Regions from separate parts of the Homo sapiens genome. Here region 2 is linked to region 1. Evidence: promoter capture Hi-C in human tissues and cell types (Jung and others, 2019). All regions are on one chromosome and are shown on one strand. Each heading gives the region's core, a stretch centred on a gene start or on the middle of the fragment in contact. The rest is flanking DNA. Distances are from core to core; before and after follow the strand shown. Region 1 holds the start of LMCD1 (LIM and cysteine rich domains 1). Region 2 holds the start of SSUH2 (ssu-2 homolog).

Region 1 (2,700 bases), core at 174-2,673:
GCTGAGATTTGGGATGACTGGAGATGATGATAAGAACTAAATTGGAGGAGGCTTTCAAGAGGAAAAAGCCTCCAGCAAGAGACAGCCCCACAGTGGGAACTGCAGCCTCCCCTTCTCACCAAATCCCTCCCGAATGGTGTACTTCGGGACCACTCTTCAGTCTCTGTGCAACCGAGTTTTATTTTAGCCCACGGGACCCTGGTTTTTCTGGCAGGGGGCACTGCAAAGACGGGTTACAGGCCGAACACCTCACAACAGAGACAGCAGTATTCTCTCTAGGATAAAAAGGGCTTGTGTTTAATCCTCTGTCAGGGCAGGGGGGAAATGCCTCTGGAATCCAAGTCTGTGGAACCGGCTCAGCAGAGAGATGTGGCTTTATAGGCAAACAACGTGGCATAGAGAGAGGAACCTGGCCAATTCTGTCTTATAAGAGTAGTTATGTTATGCGTTGCAAGGACTCCACATTCCATGGATTTGTGAACTCAGATGGAATCTTGTTTGTCCAGGCCTGCATGACCCCATTTATCTAAAAATTACTAACTTCCTAGTTTATAGTTTACAATCCTGTGCCCGCCGCCTCCCTCCCCCCCCCCGCCACGCCCCCATGAGCTTTCTCTCTATTACTCTCAGTCTCTCAGGTTAAAGCCTTGCTCAGTAATTCAGCTGTGGACCAGTTATTCTGATTATTTCCTCATCTATCGTCTTACAGTCATAATAATAATAATATCTGAGATAATATGAGCATACAACAAGACAGTATGTCCACAGGAGCATCTCTAAGATCAGGACAGTGATTTCTTGCTCATGGAATAAGAAGGATTTATGTTAAAGCAAGTTATAAGAAAGCAGTTTAATACTTTACGAACGTTAAGTTTAAAAAAATCATAACTCGCTGGAATCTTTTCTCCTCTCTGGATATTGGAGAACTCGCCCAGGTTTGGGAAACGTTAGCCAGCTCCTGCAAAACACCTCCTCCCTCAGCCCTCCCCGCGCCCCCTACGACCAGGCAGAAAGGGTGGGAAGGGGAGCACAGCTCAGCATTTATTTCTGGATCCAGCTCACTAAAAATACCTCGGCTCTCCTGTTTGATCACTCTCCCTTTTGACCTGAATGGATCGCGGGAGCCGCGCCGCCCGCCCCACCTTCGGCCCGTTGCCCTTTAAAGGAAAAGGGCGTGGGGACGGATTCCTGCCGCTCGAGGGATAGAAGGGAGCTGGGTAGTCAGGGGCCGCGGCCATGCTGACGTCAGGGCAGCCGGCGCTCAGCTCCGCTCGCTGCCACAGTGCAGAGACCTCCCTGAGGGAGGGGGACAGCCTCGCGCTGGGATTGGCTGGCCTCGCGCGAGCGCCGGCGCGGAGTGGCTGGCGAGGTTTTAGAGGGAGTCCCGCTCTCCAATTAAAGCGGCCCAGCTGCGCCTGGCTGCGCACAGAGCTCCCTCCCAGGCCCGCGAACTTGGCCATTCAGCCGCCGCTGTCCCCGCTGCGCGCCCTCGCGCCTCTGCCTGAGAAGCCAGGCGCTGTTCCCCCACCCCAGAAGAGGATGGCAAAGGTGGCTAAGGACCTCAACCCAGGAGTTAAAAAGGTGAGTGGAAAGCTGTTTGTATTTACCCAGATTCTTACTTTTTCTTGTTCCCCTTCCCATCTGTTCGCGGAAACTTCCCAAAAGGTAATGAGAAGGGAACTCTTTAAATTCCAAAACTGCATGGAAAACAAATAGTTGGGAATACATGTTTGAGCTAACAGGCACACACACCCCAAACCCAATGTTGTGTAAAATATTTGCAAAGGGTCTTATGTCTTTGGTGATGCTAGTTAAAGTTTAATTAAGGTTTTACATATATATACAATATATATAAAATGTATATAAAATATATATATAAAATATATATAATATATATTATATATAATATATAAAATATATATTATATATAATATATATTATATATAAAATATATAATATATATTATATAAAATATATATAATATATATTATATATAAAATATATATAATATATAATATATATATATGAAATCTTATGGTCTGTAAAGGAAAAACCCCTAGCTTCCTCACTCCCTGTCCTCAGGTGGCTGAAGTAAGGGTTGAGAGCATGTAATATTTACTCACAGTCTCCCTTTTGCTATTATCCCAGTGTTTTGTGTGTTTCCCCCAATACACACACACACACACACACACACACACACACACACACGCACGCAGTTTCTTTAGTTGGTGATGTTGGCAGTGGCAGCAGTTCCAGCATAAGGGAACTGATTTCTGTCCCCAGGGTCTGCACGTTTCCCTTACAAGAAGGGCTGGCCCGGAGCCCAGAAGGTCATGGGTAAACTCCTGCACAGGAGCCTGCGGCTGTGCCTATAGCTCCAATACCACTTGTTGCCTACCTGAATGCAGCTGGGAGAAGGCACAGGCTGGAGACTTAGAGAACATGTGAACGGGAAGGGAACAGAGAGACAACCTAGGCTTTACAGATCGGGAAACTGAGGCCCGGGGTCACAGAGAGTTGGTTCTAACAGGCAGCTGACTGTAAGGCAAGCCCTAGGCATCCAGACTCAGTCCCTGCCACTTTTTAACTGCACATGATTCACCAGGTCACTTTTCTGAGCCTCAGTTTCCTTGTCTCTGATGTGGGGAGGATAGGCCTAACCTCCCTCATGGCAGTGGTAGCAGGGATACTGACACTGTG
Region 2 (2,763 bases), core at 49-2,548, 140 kb after region 1:
GAAGAAGAGATCGCAAGCTACAGGTAGGCTTTACACACGAGAGGAAGGAAGGAAGGAAGGGGTGCTCTCGGCAATCCAGATGCAGACCCAGGACTGCATTTAGGGCAGATGGAAGAGTTCACACAGTGCTAGCTACAGAGCTTATTAGAAAAGACTATGGATACATAACTTCCAACATATTAGAGGTCAGATTAGGTCCTCTTCAAATGCAGGCTAAAATATCTCCACACAGTCTTCCGTGCCATCTTTGAGGCTCTACTTACTGTCATCTTCATTCAGATCCCTGTCCATGTTCCAGACGTCCTGCCAAAGAGATGTCTGCCCTTCGAGTGTGCTTGGACCGATGTGCTCTGATGGACCACCCTCAGGCCCCTCCCAGAACAGCAGGCCCATTGTTACCCAGTTGGAATACAACAAAGGGAAACATCTATATCGTTCATCATAGCAGCTGCTCTGCACCCAATCCACCGGGTTCTGGGAGCTCCTCTTCCACAAGAGCCTTCTACTGACCAAGCTCTTATGGATGCTTCTAGTTACTCATGTCCTCACTGCACCCCTTTGAGAGGGGCACTGGTATCATGCCCATTTTTCTGAGCAGGATGATAGATTCAAACCCTCATCAGTCTGACTCTCTAGTCAGAGTGCCTGACAACTGAGCTACATCGCCCAGCTGTAGGAGGCAGACTCCTAAGTATTGTAGGGCGCATGCAGAAAAAGGTCATAACCACAAGAAGGTTACCTCCCCAAGGGGGATATTATATACAGATACTCAGCCTGGGCAGGGCCTCTGAGATCTTGAGCATCACCAGCCTCATCTCCCTGGGGAAGAAACAAAGCTGGGATTGTGAGGCCACACTGCAAAGCCACACGGCACCTCATGGGCAGAGCTGGCTCCCAACCCAGCCATGTGGGCCACTACTGTCGCCACACCAGCCTCGCCCACTGTGAAACATCTTTGGATTTGTAAAAGGTCTTTTCCTAAACCTTTTCCATTGGAGTTTGACACCCCTTCAACCTCAGCCCTTGGAAGATCATCCTCCTCTGCATGAGTCTAAACACAGAACTTGTGAGCTGGTCCCCGAGGCTCTATGGGTCCCACCCCCTCCACTGCATCCTTGGCAATCACTCCTCTGCAGCTGAACCTGGGGTTCTCTGGCCAGGGTGATGAAACTGCCCTACGCCTTGACTTCCCCATCCCAGCAATGCACGTGGGATGTGCCATGATATTCCTCAATGACAACCTGGGATTGCCTTCACCAGGGGAAGCATCAGGACTATTTTGTCAGTGTCCTAAATGTCGGCCTGTCTGGGATGGCCACACTGCACAGAGATGGCTCCCAGCTGCTCCATAAAGAGCGTGTCTTTATTCTCTCTACTGCCTTCACCCTCGTCACTGACTGCCCATCGCCGACAGCATGCAAGTGCAACCTTCAGCAGTATTCACAATTTCACAAATGCTTCTTAGGTGACTCAGTCCTCACAAATCGATTTTTATGGCTGGTAGGAGCACTGGATTTCTGATACTTGAGAGTCATATAAGTTTCATTACTGTGTATACACAAGGAAGACCATGATCCTGAGGAACAAATGTGGTCTTTTGATGCCTTTATACATGAAGCAATGATTTTAAGCCCTTATAGAATTGTCCCCATGGTAAATGGGGTTATCATGAATTTGTATGCCTTTCTCTGCGTGTATATTTTACCCTAAACATCTGTGTGAGCATCCATTGCTGTATCTGTTTAGGTGTGTGTTTGCATGTGTGTATATATTTGAGCCAAAACATGATAAATGATAGATTAATGACAAAATGCTTGCAACTTAACTAAAACAATATACCACTATTACATCTTGAGTACTTTTTAAGCGCAATATATGCTTACCTAAAACCCTCCTCAGCATTTAAAAGGAACAACCACAGAAAATTCTTTAAATGTCAAATTGAACAAAATGTTGAAGAGAATTAAGCATTACAAGGACCCGAAATCTTGAGGCCGCAAAAATGCAGACAACGCTGAGCTGTATTTTCGTAACCAGGAAGTGCTGATCAGCAGAAATGACAGTCCTTTTCTGCACGCTACTTAGATCACATAATAGTAAGTTAATAAAAAGCTCTTAAAACGCATGGAAGATAAACAAACCAACAGCTAGACCTTTCTGATCTTGCTTCGGCATCCGTACAGAAGTGCTGTCTGCAACAGTGTGCTTGAGTGACTCGGGGCAAGTAATGTACCCATCAACACCTAACATCCGTGGTAGCAGCAGGAACAAGCAGCATTAGCTCTGGGACCCACGACAGTGTGAGGCTAGTACTGGTCCCTGCCTCTTACTATCAAAGGAGGTTGGGATCAGGGAAGAGAGGCGCCCACTATGTGCCTGACATCTGACAGTCATTCTTCCTCCCTGCTGTTGATGGAAATGAGTGGGCTCTGAGAGCTCCTCCTGAACTGGCCCTCGTGTCCTGCATGTGCTAAGTGCTCAAGAAACATTTGTGGAATTAGCACAGCTGTCCAGGAGCTGACTCTATCAATTGATTGCTGTCTAAGAACCTTGTTTTTTCCTGGAAATAAAATCTATGTAATCTCACAGGTGGGTGTCTGTCTTGGGATATGTCATGGCTGCAGCAAGAATTAGGGTAGGGCAGAGCTTTAGAAGGGAATCAAGGAACCACGTGGTCAGACTGCAATTGAACATGATAGTGAGGAAAAACCTAGAAGCAAGGTTCAATAACTGTCTTCAAGTGTTTAAAGGGGCATGTGGGAA

Evidence for each region. Contacts are between HindIII fragments. The study calls those that stand out against the background at their distance.
Region 2: a fragment that was not itself captured here is called in contact with the fragment with the promoter of LMCD1 in region 1 in 1 of the 25 tissues and cell types used here (hippocampus).

Annotation. Positions count from the first base shown.
Region 1 is chr3:8,500,400-8,503,099 of GRCh38, forward strand. LMCD1 (LIM and cysteine rich domains 1) reads left to right here and starts at 1,424. Exons shown (of 6, transcript NM_014583.4): 1 at 1,424-1,581. The coding sequence starts at 1,540. It overlaps LMCD1-AS1 (LMCD1 antisense RNA 1), which reads right to left and starts at 1,259. Exons shown (of 4, transcript NR_033378.1): 1 at 1,072-1,259. The HindIII fragment of the contact is 11,258 bases long and covers 1-2,700 here.
Region 2 is chr3:8,644,468-8,647,230 of GRCh38, forward strand. SSUH2 (ssu-2 homolog) reads right to left here and starts at 331. Exons shown (of 12, transcript NM_001256748.3): 1 at 264-331. The coding sequence starts at 291. The HindIII fragment of the contact is 4,453 bases long and covers 1-2,763 here.